4 separate regions of the Homo sapiens genome follow, and all the other regions are linked to region 2. Evidence: promoter capture Hi-C in 16 types of primary human blood cells and fetal thymus (Javierre and others, 2016). All regions are on one chromosome and are shown on one strand. The core of a region is centred on a gene start or on the middle of the fragment in contact, and the rest is flanking DNA. Distances in the headings are between cores, read along the strand shown. Region 1 overlaps ABCC11 (ATP binding cassette subfamily C member 11). Region 2 holds the start of NETO2 (neuropilin and tolloid like 2). Region 3 overlaps LOC105371240 (a long non-coding RNA gene). Region 4 overlaps ABCC11 (ATP binding cassette subfamily C member 11).

Region 1 (2,990 bases), core at 245-2,744, 1.0 Mb before region 2:
AGTGGGAATGAAGGGCAAAAGAGAGTAGCCAAGCGCTGAGCAGGGAGGTTTGGGCAAACAGCTTCACCTTCTACCAGCCACAGATTCTCACGTGGCCCCAGGGAGAAGGCTTTCCCTGCCACTGAATTTCCCCCGGACACCTGCAGTCAGACCCCCTGTTCTTTCTTGAAGACCAATAGCAGCCGAGAGAGCAATGGAACCATGGCAGACCTGGGCAACATTGCAGACAATCCTCAACTGTCCTTCTACCAGCTGGTGTACGGGCTCAACGCCCTGCTCCTCATCTGTGTGGGGGTCTGCTCCTCAGGGATTTTCACCAAGGTCACGAGGAAGGCATCCACGGCCCTGCACAACAAGCTCTTCAACAAGGTATGGGCCTGGGTGCTGGGTGGGGCCGAAGGCTGAGCTCTGAACTTGCCCAGCTTCATTTTTATTTTTTTATTTTTTTATTTTTTAGAGCTCTGTAGCCCAGGCTGGAGTGCAGTGGCACAATCTCCACTCATGGCAACCTCCACCTTCCAGGCTGAAGTGATCCTCCTGCCTCAGCCTCCCAAGTAGCTGGGAGTACAGGCACATGCCACTAGATCTGACTAATTTTTGTATTTTTTGTAGAGACTGGGTTTCACCACGTTGCCCAAGGTGGTCTCAAACTCCTGGGTTCCAGTGATCCATCCACCTCGGCCCCCCAAAGTGCTGGGATTACAGGCATGAGCCACCACCCCCGGCCTATTTTTTTTTTATTAGTAGACCTTAATTATTTATTTATCTGTAGAGATGGGGTCTTGCTCTGTTTGCCCAGGCTAGTCTCAAAATCCTGGGCTAATGCAATCCTCCCACATTGGCCTCCTAAGTAGCTAGAATTACAGGTGTGAGCCACCATGCCCGGCCAACTTTATTTTATTATTATTTTTTATTATATTTTAAGTTTTAGGGTACATGTGCACATGCAGGTTAGTTACATATGTATACATGTGCCATGTTGGTGTGCTGCACCCAGTAACTCGTCATTTAACATTAGGTATATCTCCTAATGCTATCCCTCCCCCGTCCCCCAACCCCACAACAGGCCCCAGTGTGTGATGTTCCCCTTCCTGTGTCCTTGTGTTCTCATTGTTCATTTCCCACCTATGAGTGAGAACATGTGGTGTTTGGTTTTTTGTCCTTGCAATAATTTTCTGAGAATGATGGTTTCCAGCTTCAGGATTATAAATCATGCTGCTGTAAAGATAAATGCACATGTATGCACACGTATGTTTATTGTGGCACTATTCACAATAGCAAAGACTTGAAACCAAGCCAACTTTATTTTTTGAGCACTTTTCGTTTACAGAAAAATTGAGATGAAAGTACAGAGAGTTCTCATATACCTGCCTATCACTCAGGCTGGAGTGCAGTGGTGTGATCACAGCTTACTGCAGTCTCGACCTCCTGGGCTGAAGCAGTCCTCCCTACCTTAACCTCCGAGTAGCTGGGACCACAGGGGCACACCACCATGCCTGGCTAATTTTTGTATTTTTGTGGAGACAGGTCTTGCCATGTTGCGCAGGCTGGTCTTGAACTCCTGGGCTCAAGCCATCTGCCCATCTCAGCCTCCTAAAGTGCTGGGATTACAGTTGTGAGTCACTGCACCTGGCCCATTTCTCTTATTCTTAACATCTTGCATTAACGTGGGACATTTGTTACAATTGATGAGTCAATATTGGTACATTATTAATTACTATTATTAATGAATATCCATAGTTCACCTTATGGTGCATTCTTTGTGCTGTGCATTCTATGGGTTTTGAAAAATGTATAATGACATGTATCCATGGTACAGAATAGTTCCGCCGCCATAAACAAAACCCTGTGTCCCACCTATTCATCCCTCCCTCCCTACCCTCAAACTCCCAGCAACCACTGATCTTTTTTACTCTCTTCATAGCTTTGCCTTTTCTAAAATGTAGTTGCAGCTGGGTGAACCAGGCTGCTTGGTGAGAAGGGAGTGATGAAAGTGCGGTGGAGCTCTCCTGCTGGAAGTCTGGTTCTAAGAGCTCAGTGTCCCCTGATGGAGGGCCACAGTGACGCTGGCCTCCACTGGCTGAGCATGGTCATATACAGAGTTGCTTATGATTGCCCTGAGTTCTCTTTGAAGTGGATATTATCCTCATTTTACATATGAGGAAACTGAAATCTCACATATGTTAAAGTTGGAATATGTGTTTGGTTAGAATACTGAATTGTCAGCTGGGTGCAGTAGCTCACGCCTGGAATCCCAGCATTTTGGGAGGCCTGAGGTGAGTGGATTGCTTGAGCTCAGGAGTTCGAGACCAGCCTGGGCAACAAGGCAAAATCTTGTCTCTACCAAAGATATAAAAATTAGCCGGACATGGGGGCTTGTGCCTGTAGTCCCAGCTACTTGGGGGACTGAGGATCAAGGAGGATCGCTTGAGCCAGGGAGGTGGAGGTGGCAGTGAGCTGAGATCATGCCACTGCACTCCAGCCTGGGAGACAGTGAGACCCTATCTCATTTAAAAAAAAAAAAACCAAATTGCTTATGGTATCACACTGCTTCTTGGAAATGTCATTCCTCTCTCTCACTTACTAAGTGTTACTATGTGCCAGGTTCTGCAGTGGGCATGAGGCTTACATTAGAGAATGCACAGTGCAGGTAGGGTTTGGGCCATCATGGATGTATAGTCTAATGGGGGAGATGGACAAGAAAACAGGCCATTGTCGTAGATATGTAAAGTTTATCACGGGATGGAGCACACAGGGCCATGAGAACATAAGAGGCACCTTGTCTTAGCTTGAGGGCAGGGGAAGAAAGTGGGGAGAGTCCAGAAAGCCTTCTTGGGGACTTCACTCCTTGAAGGAGGAATCAGATTTAGCCAGCTCAAGACCAGGAGACTGAAGGTGAACAAAAGCAGAGCACTTCTGGGAGGAGAATGGAGCTCTGGAAGGCTAATCTCAGAGGTGGGAGTGGGGGTTTTGACTTGGAGACGCAGGAG
Region 2 (3,108 bases), core at 59-2,558:
TGGCAAAGGGTGAAACACCTCGATATTAATTGGTGTTAAGTATGTTTTTCCTTTGTAAATCTCATGAATTATTTATGCTTTTGTACCTTTCTTGAAGGAATACAAAGTGAGAGAGAAGAGCTTAACACCTGAAAAATGTTTCAGTTGCCTGACATTGTCTTTAGCTACAATTGGTTAGACAAACGTTTACAGAGTTCCTACTACACGCAGAGACAGGCATAAATATTCTATTATGGTAAGGCCTTGATCACGGTTGTTATCTCCAGCACCAATCATTGTCTTCTGCACATAATTAACACCCAATACGTATGTGTGGAGTGAAAAAAATGAATGCAGTCGGCCTGCCTGCAAGCAGCTGATATTTTAATGGTGTGAGGGTGAGGGAGATATAAAGGATGAACAAATAAATAAATGAGGAAGGTCATATCAGTGTGATAACCGCTGTGGAGAAAATAAAGCAGGATCATGAATACCACCAACAGCCAGGCAGTTGTTGGCAGACCTGGAGACTCCCATCAGCTGGCGAAGCTGCCCAGCGTAGTGGTTAGCTGCTAGGAGGGCAGCCCCGGGGGAGGTGCACAGCCCTGCCGCTCATTCGCTACGCGGCTCTGGACGAAGGGCTTCACCTCTCTGGCCTCGACTTTCCAATCCCCTAAAACCTACTTCATGAGGGGGAGTCTGAGGAGTTGGTACTAAAGTGCCTGTCAACCTGGCGGGCGCTAGGGAAACGCCGGCAGCGCCGCGGGTCGGGAACTCACCGGCGCGAAGGGCACGGAGAGCCTCGGGCTCCCTCTGCCGATGTCCGCGCTTCCCTGCCCAGGGTCGAGCAAGGCTGAGCTGGGCAAAGTTTTGACCTTGAATGGAGGTCTGGGGGACTAGGGACCGGCGCCCCTCTCTGTCTGCTAGGGCTGGCGGAGACCCGGCAGGCCGGCGAGGGTGCGGGGCCGAGGTGGGCGGCGCTTCCCGGGCGCCTCCGTCAGACGGGAGGCATCGAGGGCTCGGCCAGCTGCCCCGGGCGCCCTGCGCGGCGGCTGGGCACGGGCCGGTCACTGCCCCGGCGCCGGCCTCTCGGACGAGGCCGCCGCGCAGCCACGGCGAGAGGCACCCTCACTACCCCCGCGCCCAGCCGGCTCCCAGCCCTAACGGCAGCCGGCGGGGAGCGACGCCGTCCCACGGCGCGAGGCCGCGGCGGGCGCGCGAGGCGCGGCGCGGGGCGGGGCGGGGCGGGCACATGCGCACAGGCGGCGCAGCCGGCACGCGGCGCTCGCGCTCCCTCCTTAAATGAGCCTGGGCGCCCCGCGCCCGCCACTTCAGTGGATCCCGCGCCGGGGCCGCGGGCGGAGCTGCCTGCCGGTCCCGCGCCGCGCGTCCGCACTCCTCGGCCCTCGGGCGGTCGATGGGACGGGGCGCCGCGGAGCAGGAGGCGGCGCCCGTCGGGGTGCTCGGGCCGCGCGGGAGCCCACTGTGGGGCTCGGGCATGGCGGGCCGCAGGACCTGAGCTCTCCTCAGGGGAGCGGGGAGGCAGCTGCTGGCCGGCGATGGGGACGGAGTGGGGCCGTCGCCGCCGCGCCGAGCCGTGAGCGCCGAGCCACCGCCGCCGCTACCTCAGCCCTTCGCGAAGCGCCGGGCAGCTCGGGAACATGGCCCTGGAGCGGCTCTGCTCGGTCCTCAAAGGTAAGGACCGGGGCTGGGGCCACGGACGGCGCCCCCTGCGGGCCGAGGCTGGCGCGCCGCCCTGCCCGCGCCTCTGCGTCCCTTACCCGCGCCCGGGACCCGACGCGCCTCTTTGTCTGGCGGGGCTCGCGGCTACTCGGAGCGGACCGCGGGGCGCGAGCCCTGCCCGGCTCCGCCGGCTCTCCGGGCGCGCCGCTTCCGACCCCTGCGAGTCCGGCCGACGTTCGCGGGGCGCGTGTGGGAAGAGGGATCGGGTCGGGAAGGCGGCCAGGAGGCCCCTGGGCCCAGCAGGGCCCTCCGGGCTGCGCCCTCGCGCCGCTTCCGTAGAATTCCGCGCATCCCTTTGCAAAGTTGTGAGATTCCTGTCGTGGAGCGGAGGCCGCTCTTTCTCCAGATGTGATGGCAAAAAGTAATTCCACGAGAACAATAAAAGCCGCGGCCGTGACGTCGTGCAGTGGTTTTCGAATAGCCCCGCGGCGCCTGCACCTCGCGGCGGGGAACGGGGCCTGCTGGGCCAGCCGGGTCCCACCTGCTGCGGCCACGGAGGCTGCGGCACCACTGCGGGCTCCGGGGGCGGCGCGCGGGCGCCGCGGACCCGGCTTGTCCCGGCCCCCGGGGAGCGCTGCTGCTCGGGTGCTTCCCGGGACGCGGCGCTCCTCGCGCTCCGCCAGAGGTCTCAGAATTCCCCGCCGCTGGTGTTCGGTTCTTACTAATTTGTTGTACTGGGAATTAAAACAGTTGGCTTGTCCAGAGCACAGAGCTCTAAAACCTACTCCACCGGCTTTGCATTTCCCAGGAGGTGGTAATTTAGATGAAAATTTATATACATAGATAATTAGGATTGGGATACAAAGTTGCTCCTGAAACTCGGACTGAATAAATCGTCTTTTCAATTTCCAGAGGGAAAACAGCACCACCACTCAGTAAAGGACTTCCCTTTTTCCCCCTGCTGATTTAAATTGAAAGCTGACGTGTTTGTAATGTCGTAACATGTTCTTTTTTTAAAAATTTCGAGGGTACGGCTGAGGCATTATTAACGGTGTTATGTATAACTCAGCACTGTATCTTAATATTTGTAGAGTGACTTTTTTCCTGCTCCCTAACAGCACTTTTTTCAAATTTGTTTTATTAGAAAGTTCAGTGTAATTTTGCTTTTGATTTTAATTGGACACATTGTCTACTCTCCACATATTCCTAAATTCGTAATTGAGATTTCAGTAATTCGAAACGTTTAACTACCCCACTGTAAACGTATCTACAGCTTGTACTAAGGTAACCTAGGACTTTCTAGCTGATGAATATTTCACAAACCGTAAATCCGTAGTGATTTCTTTATTACAATTGAAAACAACTCTGAAATTCATCCTGTGGCTTTCATATCTCTAACTCCTAATTTTTACAGTCATTCCTGGGAAAGGAATGTTTTTACTCTTT
Region 3 (3,328 bases), core at 468-2,967, 1.5 Mb before region 2:
TGTGCACCACCACACCTGGCTAATTTTTTTATTTGTAGAGACGATATCTCACTATGTTGCCCAGGCTGGTTTTGAACTCCTAGGCTCAAGCAATCCTCCTGTCTTGACCACCCAAAGTGCTGGAATTACAGGTGTGAGCCACTCAGCCCAACCTCAATGAGATCTTTTCTAACTGCCCTACTTAAAATATCGACACCCCTCCCTTCCCAACTCTCCCGACCATCCTTTCCCTGCCTTTCCCCCAATGTGGTCTACTTTTTAATATTGTAAAATGTACATATTTAGATTTGGTATTTATTGCCTGCTCCCCCACTGGAATATCAACCTCACGATCACGAGGGCAGGGAATTGTCTTCTTTTTTTTTTTTTTGGTCTCTTTTAACACTGATGTATTCCAAGCACCCAGAAAGAACCCATGATAGACATTAATAAGTATCCTGAATGAATAATACACCTCAGCCATTCCATGCCATTTGAAACCCAGACATTCTTAAGGTTCAGCGTTACTCCCACTTTCCATAAAAACCAAGTCCTATAGGCTGCCTCTGCATATCACCTCTCTGATCAATTTTATCCTCTCTATGTCCCCAAACATTGCCTGCATTTGAGGCTCTGTCATCTCCCTCTAGCTATGACATCAGCATCCTATCTTTCCTTTCTTTTTTTTTTTTTTTTTTTTGAGATGGAGTTTCACTCTTGTTGCACAGGCTGGAATGCAGTGGTGCCATCTCGGCTCACTGCAACCTCCGCCTCCCAGGTTCAAGTAATTCTCCTGCCTCAGCCTCCTGAATAGCTGGGATTACAGGCACACACCACCACGCCCAGCTAATTTTTGTATTTTTAGTAGAGACGGGATCTCACCATGTTGGCCAGGCTGTTCTTGAACTTCTGACCTCAAGCGATCCACCTGCCTCAGCCTCTCAAAGTGCTGTCTCTCTGTTCTCAATCCTTTCCCCTCCAACCCACCCTACAGAGAGAGGACCTCACAGTGTTAATGTCCTGCTTAAAACCTTTCTATGGCAGGCGGGCATGGTGGCTTACACCTGTAGTACCCCGGGAGACTGAGGCAGGAGGATGGCTCAAGCCCAGGAGTTTGAGTTCAGCCTGGGCAACATAGTGAGACCCTGTCTCAGAGAAAACAAATTTATGAGTTTCAAGTCAAGGCTAAATTGGAAAAAATAAAATAAATTTAACCAGCCTCTCTATGGCCCCCATGGCCTTCTCAGGAAATCCAGTCTCCAGTGGTCCTGAAGCCTTAAGTGGTCTGGACCCACTTCCTGCTGTGCCTGCTCATCCTCACACCATCCCCCACAACATTCCTCAGGCCTGCAGAACATCTTACTGCTGGCCACAGAGCTCTCCTGCAGACATTTTCATCTTCTGCTCTTTCTGCTGAAAATGATCTCCCTGCGTCTTTTTTTTTTAAGAGTCTTGCTATGTTGCCTGGGCTGGTCTTGAACACCTGGATTCCAGATATCCTCCCGCCTCTGCCTTCTTGGTAGCTAAGATTACAGGCATGAGCTGTGCTATTCAGGTTCCCCTGCCTCTCATCAGGCTTGTTCCTACCTTCCTTGGGGACGTCCTCCAGGAAGCCTTCCTTAGCTTCACACCAGGCTGGGTGAGCTGCCTCATATCTGTGTTCACATATCAACTTGTGCTGATCTTGGTCGGCTTTTCTGACTCGGCCATGAGATCATGTGAGCCTTGAGGACGGAGTTTTGTCTTATTTTATAATCCCAGTGAGGCTGGGTGCAGTGGTGTGCATCAGTAAACCCAGGTTCTGCAGTGAGCTATGCAGTGAGCTATGATAATATCTGTGAATAGCCACTACACTCTAGGTTGGGCAACAGAGCAAGACCCCATCTTTAGAAAATAAAAACAGGCCAGGCACAGTGGTTCACATCGGTAATCCCAGGACTTTGGGAGGCCAAGGTGGGTGGATCACCTGAGCTCAGGAGTTTGAGACCAGCTTGGCCAGCATGGCAAAACCCCATCTCTACTGAAAATACAAAAATTAGCTTGGCACGGTGGCGCATGCCTGTAACCCCAGCTACTCAGGAGGCTGAGGCTGGAGAATCGCTTGGACCTGGGAGGCGGAGGTTGCAGTGAGCTGAGATCGTGCCACTGCACTCTGGCTTGGGTGACAGAGCAAGACCCCATCTCAGAAAAAAAAAAAAAGTAAATAATAAATAACAAAACAAATTAAATTTATTATTTAAATTTTTTAAATAACAAATGATAATCCCAGTGAGGATACATCATCTAAATAGTAGGCACTTAGTAAATAAGAAGGGAAGGAAAGCAGGAAGAAGGGAAGAGGGAAAGCAGAAAAGAAGAAAGAAAGGTCTCAAATGCTCAGCTCTCTTTCTGGGCACATGGTGGGGCTGCACCTCTCCACCCACTTGAGCTCGTGCACGGCCATGTGATCTGCTTTGGCCCATGAAGTATGAGTGAAAATGACATGTGTCACTTTTAGGCAGAAGCAGACAGGTCAGTCTGTGGTCTCCATCCTCTTTTTACTGCCTGCTGGGTCACAGAAGCACTTGTTGAGATGGAGTCTCTGTCACACAAGGCCCCTGAGTGACTAAGACAAGCAGAGCCCCTGGTGGACCTGCAGTGGACACACAGCATGGGGTGAGAAAGACACTCTGTTCTTTTGAACTGCTGAGAGTTTAGGGTTTATTATTAACCTAGCACAACCACGTCTCTTCTTTTTTTTTTTTTTTTTTGAGATGGAGTTTCACTCTTGTTCCTCAGGCTGGAATGCAGTGGCGTGATCTCAGATCACTACAACCTCCACCTCCCAGGTTCCAGCGATTCTCCTGCCTCAGCCTCCTGAGTAGCTGAGATTACAGGTGCCCACCCAAAGTACTGGGATTATGGGTGTGACCCACCTTGCCCAGCCACGTCTCTTCTTTTCTTTTTTAATTTCAACTTTTGTTTTAGATGCAGAGGATATACATGCAGGTTTGTTACATGGGTATATTGCATGATGCCGAAGTTTAAGGTACGATTGATTCTGTCACAAGCATAGGACCCAATAAGTAGTTTTCCAACCCCTGCAGCTCTCTTCCTCTACCCTCTAGGAGTCCCCAGTGTCTATTGTTTCCATCTTTGTGTCCCAATACCCAATATTTTGCTCCCACTTATAAGTAAGAACATGGGGTATTTGGTTTTCTGTTTCTATGTTAATTCAAGTGCAGTTGGTTTGAGGTATCAGGGAAAATCGCATCTTTTTACCCTTCTATTTGCTAAGAATATCAGACACTACCTTGCCTTTCCCACTGCTATACAATTTCAATTCCAATTGTCTGTTTTCCATAGATTC
Region 4 (3,226 bases), core at 367-2,866, 1.0 Mb before region 2:
CCAAGCTCTCAGTGATCCCTCAAGATCCAGTGCTGCTCTCAGGAACCATCAGGTGAGTGCCGGGCCAGCAGGCAGCCTGCAGGAGGTGGGTCACAGGACCAGGATTCCAGCACCGGGCTGCCTATAGTGAGCTGGTGACCAATGCCCCGATTTCCAGGCCTCCTTGGCCTGCTGGGCCACTCATGCCTACCTGGCTTACCTCACTGAAGTACTGTTGAGGATTAAATGAGGCCTCAATATATATAAGAGCACTTTGTAAACCGTAATGTTATACGCAAAAACAAAACATATTTTTATTTTTTAGAAACTGGATGGCATGGTGGTGCACAGCCGTAGTCCGAGCTATTTGGGAGGCTGAGGCAGGAGGATCACTTGAGCCCAGGAGCTCAGGGCTGTAGTACACTATGACTGTGCCTGTGAATAGCCACTGTGCTCCAACCTGGGCAACACAACAAGACCCTGACTCTTATTAAAAAACAAACAAACAAACAAGCAAACAAACAAAAAACAGAAACAAAACCCTGATGGGATTGGTCAGATTTCACTACACCATTAAGCATTTGCACTCAGGCTACCATATTCTTTCTTGTCCAGATGTAGCTTATTCTCTCTGTGCACTGGGCAAAGCCCCTGGGGACGTTTTTAGGAAGTGCTTCTTCAATGGTACACATTCTGGACAGGAGTGATGTGAGAAAAATCCAGGCAGCCCAGTCAGTGAAGCAGACAGAACCAGATCTTCCAGCCTCTTCACTACACTTTCTGTGTCCTCAGAAGTCAACTCAGGGACAAAGCTTTATCCAGATTAGGCTCCTACTGACAATGCACTTTATCTGGGAGGAAACATCAAGGCATGGGGACTGAGGAAGATGGATGCACTAAAAAGCAGGCTAGGTCCCCCCATGTTTTGTGATATTTAAGGAGAATTCTTAGAGCCAGGAGGATAAACTGAACCCCAGAGCTTCATTCATTCATTCCTTCATTCATCCTCCCACTCATTTAACTTGCCTTTTCTGAGCTTCTGCCTGGTCTGGACACTGTGCTAGGGACTGGAGCCAGTTTAATGAATGTACATTTTCCCTGCTCCCCCAGCAGGAGCTCACAGTGTGGGTGGGGAAGATGGTTTTGTACAGGGGTAAGACCCAATAAATCACAGTATGAAGGGGTAATTGTTAGATCAGAGATATGTACAAAATGCTAAGGGAGCTACGACTGGGATGAGTCACTGCCTGAGTGAATCCAGAAAGGCTTCCCAGAGGAGGGGACATTTGATCAGGGTCTTGAAAGCTGAGTAGGAGCTTGCCAGGCAGAAATAGGAGACAAACTCTTTTCAAGGAGAAGGAACAATATGTGCACAGACACAGGGTTTCAAAATGACTGGGTCATGAGGTGGGGCATGGTAGTTCATGCCTGTAATCCCAGCACTTTGGGAGGCCAAGGCAGGGAGATCACTTGAGGCCAGGAGTTTGAGACCAGCCTGGCCAACATGACAAAACCCTGTCTCTGCTAAAAATACAAAAATTAGCCAGATGTGGTGGTGCATGTCTGTAATCCCAGCTACTCGGGAGGCTGAGGCACGTGAATCGCATGAGCCCGGGAGGTGGAGGTTGCAGTGAGCCGAGATCGTGCTACTGCACTCCAGCCTGGGTGACTGAAGGAAACTCTGTCTCAAAACCTTCCCCGCCCCCACACAAAACAACAAAAAAATGGTTGTGTTAGGGGAATGATAAGACATTTAGTGATAGATTTCTATGTTACAGTAGAATGTGGCCAAATCTCCTGTGCGTTGATATGAAGAGTAGTAAAAATATGAACTAACATTTATTGAGCATTTATATGTGCCAACTGAATGCTTTAGTATACTGCCTAATTTAACTCTCCCAGCAACACTGTGAGGCCCCTTCATTATCCCCATTTTACAGATGAAGGCACGGAACTTAGAGAGGAAGGGGACTTGTTTAAAGACACACAAAGAAATGGCGAACATGAGATATAACCCTAGGTGTTCTAAACCCATAATTTGTGATATTTCCCCCCACCTCTTTCTGTAGAAAGAAATGTGGACTTGAAATCCTACCTTAGAACTTAAGGCTCTACCCTTAAGCATCTCTCTGAATGTCTTGATGCCAGCCTGGCTCTCATACTGGCTTGTGGCGTGACCTTGAACAAGCCATTTAAAACTGATAAGAAAGGAGTATACCCATCTCATGGAGGAGAAAATGTCAAATAACCCATCTATGAAAGTGCTTTGGAGATATCAAATGTCATGCAAATAAGACCTGCCTCTTCTTTAGTACACATTAGCCCTACACACAAGATATGCGTGGCTGGCACAACTGGGGAAGGATAAAGCAAGGTTGACAGGTTTCACTCAGGGCTACATGGCTGCATAGCAGGGAAGTGTCTATAGTGCTGCCTGTTCCAGATGCAAGTGTAAAGCTTGCTGGGTGTAAAGTCCAGATAGATTCCCTCTCTCATGTCAGTTACCTGGATGTTAGGATTCTTTTCACTGCAAGAAACAGAAAGTCCAGCCCCCCAACAATGAGCTACCACTTCACACCTACTAGAATGGCTATAACAATAATAAAAGGTAAATAGCAAGTATTATTAACAAGGATGTGAAAAAATTGAAACTCTCATGCATTGCCAGTGGGGATGTAAAATTGTGCAGAGACCATGGAAAACAATTTGGCAATTCCTCAAAAAGGTAAACAAAAATTAGCTGGGCATGGTGGTCTGTGCTTGCAATTCCAGCTACTCAGGAGACTGAGGTGGGAGGCTTGCTTGAGCCCAAGAGGTCAACGCTGTAGTGAGCTGTGTTTGCACCACTGCACTCCAGCCTCGTAGACAGAGTGAGACCCTGTCTCAAAAAAAAAAAAAAAAAAGTTAAACATAGAATTACCATGTAATCCAGGAATTTCACTTCTAGTTATATATCCCAAAGTGTTGAAAGCAGAGACTTCAACCCATATGTGTACACTAGTGTTTAGAGCAGCCCTACTCACAGTAATCAAAAGGTGGAAACAAGTCATACGTCTATAAACAGATGAATGGAAAAACAAAATGTGGTATATACATACAATGGAATATTATGCAGCTCTAAAAAGAAGGGAAATGTTACATGCTACAATATGGATGGACACGAAGTGAAAGATGCCAGACAGAAGGACACATACTACATGAGTCCACTTATATGAGGTAGCTGGAATAGGCAAATCCATATCGATGG

The links. The method cuts DNA at HindIII sites, captures the fragments that hold promoters and counts their contacts. A CHiCAGO score of 5 or more calls a contact.
Region 1: a fragment that was not itself captured here is called in contact with the fragment with the promoter of NETO2 in region 2 in 1 of 17 cell types (naive B cells); the score reaches 5.5 in naive B cells.
Region 3: a contact is called between a fragment that was not itself captured here and the fragment with the promoter of NETO2 in region 2, in 1 of 17 cell types (naive CD8 T cells). The highest score is 5.4, in naive CD8 T cells.
Region 4: a fragment that was not itself captured here is called in contact with the fragment with the promoter of NETO2 in region 2 in 11 of 17 cell types (naive CD8 T cells, megakaryocytes, naive B cells and 8 more); the score reaches 10.6 in naive CD8 T cells.

The regions. Positions count from the first base shown.
Region 1 is chr16:48,189,899-48,192,888 of GRCh38, reverse strand. It overlaps ABCC11 (ATP binding cassette subfamily C member 11), which reads left to right. Exons shown (of 30, transcript NM_001370497.1): 20 at 172-369. Among named protein-coding and RNA genes, the nearest start is that of ABCC12, 35 kb to the right of the region's middle. The HindIII fragment of the contact is 3,166 bases long and covers 1-2,990 here.
Region 2 is chr16:47,142,145-47,145,252 of GRCh38, reverse strand. NETO2 (neuropilin and tolloid like 2) reads left to right here and starts at 1,308. Exons shown (of 9, transcript NM_018092.5): 1 at 1,308-1,674. The coding sequence starts at 1,641. It overlaps ITFG1-AS1 (ITFG1 antisense RNA 1), which reads right to left and starts at 1,185. Exons shown (of 4, transcript NR_110904.1): 1 at 759-1,185. RefSeq lists silencers at 778-1,107, 1,168-2,007, 2,178-2,327. The HindIII fragment of the contact is 8,905 bases long and covers 1-3,108 here.
Region 3 is chr16:48,631,805-48,635,132 of GRCh38, reverse strand. All of the region lies in intron 1 of LOC105371240 (a long non-coding RNA gene), which reads right to left. Among named protein-coding and RNA genes, the nearest start is that of N4BP1, 23 kb to the right of the region's middle. The HindIII fragment of the contact is 5,727 bases long and covers 1-3,328 here.
Region 4 is chr16:48,172,084-48,175,309 of GRCh38, reverse strand. It overlaps ABCC11 (ATP binding cassette subfamily C member 11), which reads left to right. Exons shown (of 30, transcript NM_001370497.1): 26 at 1-52. Among named protein-coding and RNA genes, the nearest start is that of ABCC12, 18 kb to the right of the region's middle. The HindIII fragment of the contact is 1,645 bases long and covers 794-2,438 here.